Linked DNA regions of Homo sapiens: regions 2, 3 and 4 are each linked to region 1. Evidence: promoter capture Hi-C in 16 types of primary human blood cells and fetal thymus (Javierre and others, 2016). All regions are on one chromosome and are shown on one strand. The core of a region is centred on a gene start or on the middle of the fragment in contact, and the rest is flanking DNA. Distances in the headings are between cores, read along the strand shown.

The links. Contacts are between HindIII fragments. The CHiCAGO score rates a contact against its expected background, and 5 or more counts as called.
Region 2: a contact is called between a fragment that was not itself captured here and the fragment with the promoter of RPS7 in region 1, in 2 of 17 cell types (non-activated CD4 T cells and M0 macrophages). The highest score is 5.8, in non-activated CD4 T cells.
Region 3: a contact is called between a fragment that was not itself captured here and the fragment with the promoter of RPS7 in region 1, in 1 of 17 cell types (monocytes). The highest score is 5.5, in monocytes.
Region 4: a fragment that was not itself captured here is called in contact with the fragment with the promoter of RPS7 in region 1 in 2 of 17 cell types (fetal thymus and monocytes); the score reaches 5.7 in fetal thymus.

What each region holds. Positions count from the first base shown.
Region 1 is chr2:3,573,947-3,576,646 of GRCh38, forward strand. RPS7 (ribosomal protein S7) reads left to right here and starts at 1,314. Exons shown (of 7, transcript NM_001011.4): 1 at 1,314-1,404; 2 at 1,646-1,738; 3 at 1,871-1,942; 4 at 2,541-2,684. The coding sequence starts at 1,664. It overlaps LOC124907726 (a long non-coding RNA gene), which reads right to left and starts at 1,163. Exons shown (of 2, transcript XR_007086196.1): 1 at 189-1,163. RefSeq lists enhancers at 867-1,442, 1,443-2,019 and a silencer at 1,571-1,860. The HindIII fragment of the contact is 5,628 bases long and covers 1-2,700 here.
Region 2 is chr2:6,844,930-6,847,629 of GRCh38, forward strand. It overlaps a transcript of CMPK2 not described here. Among named protein-coding and RNA genes, the nearest start is that of NRIR, 5.8 kb to the left of the region's middle. The HindIII fragment of the contact is 2,326 bases long and covers 191-2,516 here.
Region 3 is chr2:6,874,315-6,877,014 of GRCh38, forward strand. It overlaps a transcript of RSAD2 not described here. Among named protein-coding and RNA genes, the nearest start is that of RSAD2, 2.1 kb to the right of the region's middle. The HindIII fragment of the contact is 4,988 bases long and covers 1-2,700 here.
Region 4 is chr2:258,929-261,628 of GRCh38, forward strand. The region is part of intron 1 of SH3YL1 (SH3 and SYLF domain containing 1); the gene reads right to left. Among named protein-coding and RNA genes, the nearest start is that of SH3YL1, 3.8 kb to the right of the region's middle. The HindIII fragment of the contact is 3,075 bases long and covers 1-2,700 here.

The DNA.
Region 1 (2,700 bases), core at 64-2,563:
CTACTTTTATAGAGCAGCAGAGATAAAAGCCAGGTCGAAAAGTGCATGTGGAGTAAGGAAATGGACCTAGTTCGACAAAAGGGCTCAGAACGACTGCCCAGATGAGATTGTAGACGCAGCTGTAGTTTACTTTCTATCTGGAAGAAACTTCAAGTTATCCTTAATTTTCCAAGGAGACAGTCACTTACCTTTTAAAAAACATTATTAGAGAAGCACCGGGCGGGAGCATATCTAGCATTAAAAATGTGGGATGAATACCATCTCTGCTTGGTAAAGGTGGTTGGGAATCCTGAGAGAGGGCACCTAGTGTGGCTTCTGCATTTTTCACAGTGCCTGGACCACGGCTGAAAGTAACTCTTGCATGACATTTGACAGAAGAGGAAACCGAAGCTCAGATTAAATTCCCTGTCCACAGCGGGATCATTCGGCACGAGTTCCTCCCTGTCTGGAATGCTCTTCCCCAGCAATAGATCCTGCGGCTCTTCCGTGTCTCAGTCTAATGTCATTCCGTTCCAGGATTCCCGACTTCTTAAAGCATAAATAATCCCTCCCCACCCTCTCATTGTACTGTTATGTAAGTTATTACAATATGTCATTATATATTTAGTCATACTGCTTTAGGTAATGTCTTCTCCACTGAACTGTAAGCTCCATGAGGGCAAGAGTTCAGTCGGTTTTACTTAATAATTAGCACCTAGTACAGTACTAGCATAGAATGAAGGCCTCGCAATTTTTTTTAAATTTATTTTTAGACAGGGTCTTGCGCTGTCGCCCAGGCTGGAGTGCAGTGGTGCAACCTCGGCTCACGGCAGCCTCGACCTTTCGGCTCCAGCGATCCTCCCGCGTCGGCCTCCGGGGTAGCTGGGACTGCAGGCGCGCACCACCATGACTGGCTAATTTTTTTTTTTTTTTTTTTGTAGACATGGGGTCTCGCCATGTTGCCCAGGCTGGTTCCTGAGCTCAAGTGATCCTCCTGCCTCGGCCTCCCAAAGTGCTGGGATTACAGGCGTGAGCCTCAGCGCCCAGCCAAGTTAGCCTTTTTTAAACGTCCTGTCTCCGGAGGTTGCCGAAGTTGGTTTTCTTCGGCCTCCTTCTCTCTCCCAGGCCCAGGGCTGGGACGAGGCCGGTTCCCGCCTGCAACCTGCACTGAAGACGGGAACCTTGGGAGCCGGTACCGGAACGCTCGGAAACGGCACCAAAGTACGAATCCTAGGGCGGAAAAGCGTTACCAAGACACTCGTCCCCAGAGCCGCTTCCTGGGACTCTCTAGCCTCCTACCGCTTCTCAGTGATGTTCCGGTTTCCGCCCTCCTCCTCGCGCTGTTTCCGCCTCTTGCCTTCGGACGCCGGATTTTGACGTGCTCTCGCGAGATTTGGGTCTCTTCCTAAGCCGGCGCTCGGCAAGGTAGGTTGGCGGCCTGCTCTCCGACAGAACTTTTCTTCTTGGGTTGAGGAAAACGCCTTTTGGAGTCAGGCCCTGGAGGGGCGAGCCTTGCTCACAGGGTGGGGATACAGCCGATTACCCGCCCTGTGCTTTCCGATGGCTTCTGCGGGGCGAGCGGGGCCTGGCCGGGGGGTGCGGGCGGGAGGGCGAGCCAGCGGCGCCTGCAGCCCGGGCCGCGTAACGCTGACCGCTGTGCCTTCAGTTCTCCCAGGAGAAAGCCATGTTCAGTTCGAGCGCCAAGATCGTGAAGCCCAATGGCGAGAAGCCGGACGAGTTCGAGTCCGGCATCTCCCAGGTGAGAGGGTTTCCCTGGGGTCTGGGGTGGGGGGAGGCGCCCCGCCCGGGAGGGGAGGCGGCCGCGCGTGTGTTGGGCCCGGGGTGCTCGGACGCGCGCTCAGGGTCGGTCCTGCTGTTCGTTGCTTCTTAGGCTCTTCTGGAGCTGGAGATGAACTCGGACCTCAAGGCTCAGCTCAGGGAGCTGAATATTACGGCAGCTAAGGTAAGCTGGCGCTCCCTCGGCTGGGAGGGAGGTTGCGGCGCGTCTCCCCGCGCAGTGCCTGAGAGGGTTGGACCTGGGTTACGGTTGATGATGACTTGCCGCCTGGCCGCCTAACCTGAACTCAGGTTCGGCCGTGTTGTTTGGGAGTGATACCGCCCAGGTGCGGGGAGTGGGGTTGCAGGTACCCTGCGGCTTAAGCTGTCCACATGCGGGCGGTGGAGAAACGTGGAGTAGGGAGGGCCTGGGCCCATTTCGGACCTTATTTGCCCTTACTTAGTTATAGATACGGCAAAGAGCTGTGGGGAGCTCAGGATGAGATTCTCTCTACCCTTAGCCCGGAGTTGCCGCAAGTGGGGGTGCAGAAGTGGTAGTGATTGGCCTCCTGGCCTGAACAGTCTCCCTTCCTGGAATAAGGAAATGTGAAGGTTGGAGAGAGATGAGAACATTTCCGAAGGATGCATTTATGATTAACTCAAAACTAGTATTAGTTTGTAGTGCAGCTACGGTGTTAGTGATAAGGTCTTCTTATCCTCTAATTTGACCACAACGTTTACTTTCTGAAGCAGTTAACACAGTGGATTTTTGTTTTTTTCTTTAGGAAATTGAAGTTGGTGGTGGTCGGAAAGCTATCATAATCTTTGTTCCCGTTCCTCAACTGAAATCTTTCCAGAAAATCCAAGTCCGGCTAGTACGCGAATTGGAGAAAAAGTTCAGTGGGAAGCATGTCGTCTTTATCGCTCAGGTATCTGTTCTACTGT
Region 2 (2,700 bases), core at 104-2,603, 3.3 Mb after region 1:
GGCTATTGGGAGCCCTGAATAAGTGAGGCAGGTAGGGCACCCAGAAGTTGCATTTGAGGATTCCCCAAAGGGTTTGACTCTCTGATTTTGGGGAAGTATCTTTTGTAGGCTTGTCTGACATGGCTGCCAAGAGTGTGGGGTCAACTGTACAATGCTTACAAAGATTTGGGTTGTCTCGCAGGGCAAAGAAAGCTTGTATATAGTAAACCTTGGACCATTTACCCTCCTGCCTACAGAAAATATCTAGTTGTTGAATAGTATATAAAAAAAGACTTCCCTCAGAAAGCCAGGTTTTTTCATCTCCAAGATGGTAAAAAGGCCATGTCCTTGTACAATAGAATATGAGCCATTTTATCATCAGAACCTCAGCATCAAAGGAGTTCCAGTGATTCAGAATGCACTCGAGGAGATTACAGACTGCAGATGGTTTGTTACCCATCTAATAAGAGATGGGAGACAAGGCATCCCTCAGTCCCCTTCCTCCTCTCTGCGTTACCCAGGGTGGAGGGAAAGAGAGAAAAGGCATTCCTCTTCTCCTTCCTTCTCTCCTCTGGGTCCCTGCAGCCATCATAGGTGCCGCCCCATGGATGCAAGCATATCCTTCACCCATGGATCCAGAGGAGCCAGTAGGGCAGGACTAGTCATGCTCACCTGCATAAGGCTCTAGCTTTCTGCCCTGCTGGATTCCTAGACCCACTCAACCCAAAAGGCTCCCAAAGTACCCTAAGAGGCCTAGGAGAGATTCTGTAGTAGTTGGGTTTGGGCAAGACTCTTTAATGCAGGGAATGTCCTAATACCATCTGTGGCTTCCCTTGCTATAGCCCCAGTGAAAAATCAGAATTCCACAGAATGGGACTGATTAACTTCCAAACATAAAATTCCTTTTTTAAAAAATCCCATTGTAGTTGAATGCAGAACAGGTGCCTCAAATGAGCATAAGAATTGAATGGCTGCCATTCCTTTGATGGGGAGAGTATTGAAGCTAAGATTTGTCTTATCAGGATGGCTACCTCCCAGCTGTTGAAAGTGGAGATTTTTTTTGTTGTTTGGTCTACAAATAGGACATGGGCTCTGATCACTGATAGAGGAACGTAAAAGGGAAAAGAATTGGGAAACAAGGAGTTTGGGGCAGAGGGATGATAAGGCTCCCCAGGGAGAAAAATTCCTTTCCACTAGGTGGCATTGTAGGGTTAGAAATGTTAGGTAAAAACTCTGACTCCAAATTCTTTTCAGGCAAAAGTTAGAAAGAGAGATTTGGGGTTTGATAGGTTGCCCCCATAGCAAGCCCAGACCGTAAGAAAATTAACTTCTCTCATAAAAGAACTGTTTAAATTCACTGGACAATGCTGAGCTATTATATGGAGGAAAAAAACAACCCAAAAGGAGACGAGGATATTCACTCGGGGTGAAAGATCCTCCCATATGGTGCCATGAATGTCTATTATTGAGGGATAGAAAGGCCCTTACTAGGTGAAAATTTAGACTGAAGTCTTGAATTCCCTGTTTCCAGGAAATCACAAAAACAACAACTCTTTGAATTACATTCTTGATTATTAAGATACCAACTAACTCTACTCCGCAAGATTATATCCCTAGGTTACAAAAACACCCACAACATTGCATAGAAAGAAGAGGTTGGAGACATGATAGCCACAAGAAGAAAGAAGGAAAATGCAATAGGAAAAGATTGCAAGTCTTTGTGCTGACTCCCTGATGGGCTGTAGGGGACTGGAGTTAGTCCAAGGGCCTTCAGATAACACTGAGGGGGTAGCCCCAGCCAGAAACCTTCAGTTGCCCTGGGACCTTCCAATCCCACATGATGGCTAGGCCCTCTGTGAAAGCAAACTAGACTGGAATAGACAAGAAGCCTCAGAAATGCAAGTAAAGGTGAAAGTTAAAGGTCAACTCTTAATCATCCTTCTGATGAATTCCCTTCTTCCCAGCCAATGCACCAAAATGTGTTGTAATCTTACCAATGCACCAAGATGTAACAGTCTCCCGTTGTCTGAGATAATATCCAGAGTTCTTTGTCCTAATTCCAAGAAGATTAAGGAGTGCAGACAACAAGGGTGAAGTTGGAGTGAAACTTTAATAAGCGAAAAAAGAAAGCTCTCTGCCAGCAGAAGGGGGAGCTCTAATGGGGTGCCCACTATGAGGCCAGTTGTGGGGGTTTTACGGGCTGGAAAGGGGAATGAATGTGCTTAGTCTACCGGCTGTCTTGGAGAAGGCATGACTCAGCTTGGCCAGGCACCCTGGCCCAGGACCAATCAGAAAGCCTGGCCTAGGACCTTTGCCTGGGACCAATCAGGGGCTGAAGTTATGATTCACAGAGGCCAGACTCACAGTCCAAAAACTGGCAAGGAAAGTGCCCACTGGAACTAACTGGAGCCCACTGTGCCCACGCCCACAAAAGGAGAAAAAAACTTTTTCCTGGGAGCCTGCTGACTATACAAAGGACAAAGGTGTTTTTATGCCAGGACTTGTTCCCTCATCTGAGTGAGCCAGAGGTTTGTGCAAGCTTTTATCTGAATGGGCCAGAGGCTCTCCTATCTGTGCAGCCGTAGGCATGTCTCCAGGCACAACACCCTGTGCTAGTTCCCTTATCAGTGCCTGCAGCTTGATTTTTTCCCCAGGCTGCTTTTTACATTATGTGGGGTGAGGCACTGACTGGTGGGCCGAGGGCTCTCTGGGGACCCTTCC
Region 3 (2,700 bases), core at 192-2,691, 3.3 Mb after region 1:
CAATCTTGGGTATTTCTTTACAGCAATGCAAGAATTGACTAATATATCATAATATGTGTTATCAGTCTTGAGTATGATTATTTAGTTTAATGATTGTATGCCACAAAAATACCTAAATTTTCTTTTAAATTTTCTTGCAATTATTTCTACATTATTTCTTACAATTTCCTTGTAAACTCTCATCAGAGTTTTGATCATAGCTGTTCTGGATTTTTCTCATCCACGATTATTGTTTTAAATTCTTCTCTAGAAGCATTTGCAATCAGCTATAGCCCAAAATTACTAATTAAGGAAAGCAAAATTAATTAACCGAAAGTAAGTAGTTGATAAGGATAACTTTATGACTTTTATTTAAAATGTTGGTTCTACACTTAAATTTTTTTTCAGATTCAAGGAATTTTTCTTTCATTAGTTATAGTTTGCAATAATTTGGGGAAGTATACTTTTATGAACAAAAGTGGAAGCATTTGCCTTTCTCCCTACTTGAGTCCTCCAAAATTCAGACACTATTTGTGAGCATTCTTATTTTATTTCTGTAAGTTCAGTAAAAATCTGCTCTCCCTTTGTAAGCAGGATACTATTGGAAATACTGATTATATTACTAGGCTTTGATTGAAAAGTCATATTTAAGAAGGGTCATCACATGCCTGGCTTCAAGAGTTCCCAGCCTTACAGTGAATACATAAAACTTGTCACTTCCTGGTAGGCCCAAGAACCTTAAGACCCTAAGTAAAATCTAAAGCCTGCCTTGATTTGGCTTCCTAGCCTCTAGAGGTTCTAAAACCTGAAAGTTCCTGTATGATTAATGTGGAGAGAAAAAGTCATGTTCTTAAGAAAAACTAACGTGCACCTACTTTAGGTTAAAGCCCTATGCACTGTTTTCAAGTTCTGGTTTTCTACCTGTAGACTGGACTGGATCCTGAGTTCTCCTAATTTCCTACAATATCTGGATACAGTTAAATCCTGATAAAGTTTACCAGCCCTCTTCCCTCAAGCAAAACTATAGAGCCTCTTGGGACATTTCCCCTACTCGAATTATTCAACTAGGGGAATTAGGTATTAAGATTGGAGAAAACTCATCAGAGCTCTGGTCAACACTGGGGCTACTCTGTCCATCCTTAACCCCAGCATGCTTTCCATGGACCCTCCCTGGAGTTCTGAATTCATCCAGATGGTTGGGGTAGCCAACCAACCTATGATGGTTCCTAATCTTCACCTATTCTTTTCCAACTAGTACCCCTCACGGGCAGTTGTTTTTCCTTTGGGCTTCCATACACTTCCTAGGCAGGGACTTCTTAGAAACATTCCAGGCCCATATTTTATTCTCCCAGAAAGGAGAAATAATGCTTGAGTTATCCTCACCAGGAGATTTGGCCATGGAAATACCTTTTACCCAAATTCCCATCTATTCAGTTATCCCCAACACTACCTGCCCTGTTCTCTAACAGCTATAATCCAACACTCATGATAATCCCTCAGATTATGAAGATAATAGTTGTGGATACTCTCAAGGATATAATTCATCTAGAAGGGTTAACCCTAGAAGGAGCTAGATTAGGAAGGTTTTTCCGGTCCCAATTTAAACTAGATTCTGCTTGGAATTCATAAATGATCAGAAACCCTTCCTGAACTGTTCGCAGGATTGCCTGCTCTACCACCCAGGCCATCAGGGTGCAACAGAGGTCCATAGACTCCCTTGCTCGTGTGGTCCTAGACAAACACATTGCTTTAGACTATCTCCTCCCTGCACAGAGTGATGTTTGTGCTGTTGCTGCCACTTTCCACAGGGTAAATACTTCCAGGCAGGTTGAATTTGAAACATCTAAGATCTTAAGGCTAGCCAAATCTCTGAAAAACAGCTTCAAAAAGCCTCCTGGCTGGACCTTCTAGGTTAAGTTTCTGATCTCCAGATATTTCCAGCCGGCTTCCCCTGCAGTAGGGTTCCTTCTGCATGCCACCCTACAAGTCTTGATCCTCCTTATGTTTGGGCTAAGCATTTGGAGCCTCTTTAAGATTTTCCTAGCCTATTTTAACAGATGCCTGCAAGAGACCCCCACTAGGATCGTGCTGACCTAACCTTTGAGACTTCAAAGGTTGCTCCAGCCAGAAAGGGGAACCAAGTTAACCCAAAAGAATTTGATTCAAATTTAACAGGTGCCTGTATGCCTCTCATGATCACATGTTTATGAAGAAGTGAGATCTATCCAAAAGTGGTTTTCAATTGTGCAAGACCATGGCATGAGAGTTTAAGAAACTTTGGGCTGAGATTTCAAGGACCTGAGACATATCTACTGTTGAATATTTGGTAATCATTAAGCATACAATTTTGCAGATGTTAAATGTTAAGTTAAACATGTTTAATTTTTTTTAAGTAAAATAAATCATTTCTGTTTCTATTCAGAATATGACAGTATCAGAATAACAGGAGCTAACCCTAACTGAACACTTAAAGTTTGCCAGGCACTATTCTGAATTCTTCACAAAAATTAGCAGTTTTACTCTGCACAAAAATCGCCTGAGATACGTTGCTTTGCTGATGAAGAAATGGAAATCCAGAGAAATAAAGTCGCTTACTCAGTCACCCAGCTACATGATTTGTGGCTCTGGAAGTTCAGCTACTAGGACTCTTCCAACTTCCTACAGGTGTCACGAAAGCACAAGACCACACACTTACACACAGTTCTGATGAAAGAGGGCTAA
Region 4 (2,700 bases), core at 176-2,675, 3.3 Mb before region 1:
CTCTCAGCCGTCCCTCATTGCTAGTAACATGCTCTGCAAATTCCAGTTACCTCAGCCTCTTCAGACTCAATTTCTGCCTCTTCTTTTAAGCAGGAGCCTGGGCTCTGGGTGCCCCCTCCTTGTCCTGCAGTTTAGGAAGTGCTCCAGGCAGAAAACGGTCACTAATGGAGTTCACCTCCTGTTCCCCTTATCTTGTGGATCTCAGACATGTCCACCATGTGCAAAAAGTGCTCTACACACAGCTGTCCAGTTTCCTAGCTGTTTACCATGTGTGAGTAGCAGGAGCCATTTCGCTGCCCTGGCCAGTAGCTCTCAGTGCATTTTCCATTTGTTCTTTTATGATGAGCAATGCTGACCACATTTCACTCTCTCTATCAAAGGTTTCTCATGCACCTTGTTATTTACAGGGGGTTTCTCTCTGTTTCTTATTAATTTATACATTAAAAATTAATATTTTTTTGGAATATGAGTTAAAAACATTGACTCTCTGTTACTTGTCTTTTGAATTTGCTTTTTTTTCTGTTTTTTCTTAATGAAATCAAATCTGTCTTCTATCTTACAAGGGTCTTTTAATAAAACACAGTAATTTTGAAGTTCAAATGGGAAAATAAACAAGCAAGAAGAGCTAGGAAAAAATATGTAATAGGAGAACAATGACAGCCCAGCCTTGACAGAACCTGTGACACATTACAAAGCCTCAATAATTAATACATAATAGCAGATGCAAATATAGGAGAAAAATCAATTCACAAAGAAGAAAATTCAGAAATTAACCCAAATATATTTACAAATTTAGTATATAATAAAAATGACACCTCAATTCTATGTTGAAATGATGTATTGCATACTAGATAATGTTCATTTGGGGAGAAAAACAAAAATTCATTCACAGCTTTGTGTTACAGAAAGATAAACTCCAAATTCATTGAAGATTTAGAGTGTCAAATATCAAATTATAAAAGAACCAGGAATTATAGAATTTTTTTTCAATTTCATAGTGGAAAAGACCCAAGTATGGCAACAAAATTTCTATATTTCTATATTTTTACATGATCAGCAATTATTTGTACAACGTACAAATACATTGTAAAATACAGGAAAAAGTACAGATATGAAAATATGAAGGATAAAAAGCATCTATAACATTAATACTCACCAATACTACTGTCTGCATTTTGATGTATGCTTCAATTGATTCCTATTGCGAAACATGTAGACTGATTCCACTTTTAGCTTTTATAGCCATTACTATCAGGTGGTAATTATCTTGGGAGAGATGCTCTAGATGCTCAATATGTTTTAATTACATTTATACATATATCTAGATGCTGGATACATTTGAATTAGTTCACTGGAGTGGAAACTTGTTCTTTCTGCTGCTGAATATTTCATCTACTTTATTTCAGAGGCAGCACAACTTGTCTGCTTACATTGATGCTGCAGCCATAGTATCTGGAGTGGATTGGGTGACCCGAGGCTGCTGTATCAGGACGACATTCCTTTTGGTGCCACAGCAGGGCTTTATAACCAAAGCTGGTCCAATACCAGCATCTGATGGGGGACTTGTATAGGAGCTGCCAGAATAACTTTTTCCAAGGCACTTCTGTTTCCACTTGCTGTGGGATTTTTGTCTCCACAAGGGGAGAGTCTGAGAGCAAAGCCTTCATAGGGGAACCTGGCAGAAGGTGGAGAGAGCACCTGGGCTCTGCAAAGCCAGACTGAAGTCACAAGCCGCTCTGGACTTCTTCGTCAAATGGACCAGCAACATCTTTTTCTGTTAAAGCAATTTAGACTAGATTTTCTGATACATGCAACTGAAGCACTGTAAATAATACATGAATCTTATCCCCTCAGAAGACTTTCTACTTTGAACTCTCTCAACCAAGCAGTATTAGAGCAAATAAGCAAATTCCTCAGTTGAGAGTTAATCTTGCAAACATCCTGCTGTAGGGAAAGGTCATGGCCTGATCTGTAAACACGGGAAGAGAGCCATTGGACTTGGGAATCAGATGCAGCCTCACACGGCTGCAGACCGCAAGACTCATCCTAGACACAGCTTATGTCACTGTGATCCAGCTGTTGACAAGGCTGGTCACAGTGAGGACATCTTCAGTGTGTCAGCTGAACTACAGAAAATGTTACAGATTCTAATCAACTTCTGATAAAATCATGCGTGGTCATAGTTACATGCAGTGAATTTCTCTGTCAGAACAAAAAGAATATGCAAATAAAAATTTAGACATAAGCCTCAAATCCCATCCTCAGCATCAAATGATGGCTCACCCATTTTTCCTCTGCTGTACCATAAGGCATATAGAGCATGACCTGATCAGAGTGCTGATGTCCCATTCTATCATACTGATGAAGACACAGGTCATTACTAATGAAGCCTCTTAAACCTCACATCATGGTTAGCATCTGCACTCTCATAAACGTCTTAAGTCCCTTGAATCAGGCAAAATCTCTATAAATATTTAAGTTTTTTCTAAAAAAAGAGTGGCTGCCAAACCTCAAGCTAAGAAACTTTCAAATAAAGTTTTCTTTAAAACAAAAGTTAAAATGTTTTAAATTTTCATAGTAACACATTTTTTTTTTAAATTAGAAGGTCTTATAAAATACCGGAAAGACAATTTTTACTTTGGAAACCTCAAAAGCATAAATCAGCTTAAGATCTGGAAATAATTTTAGGTATTGATCGCA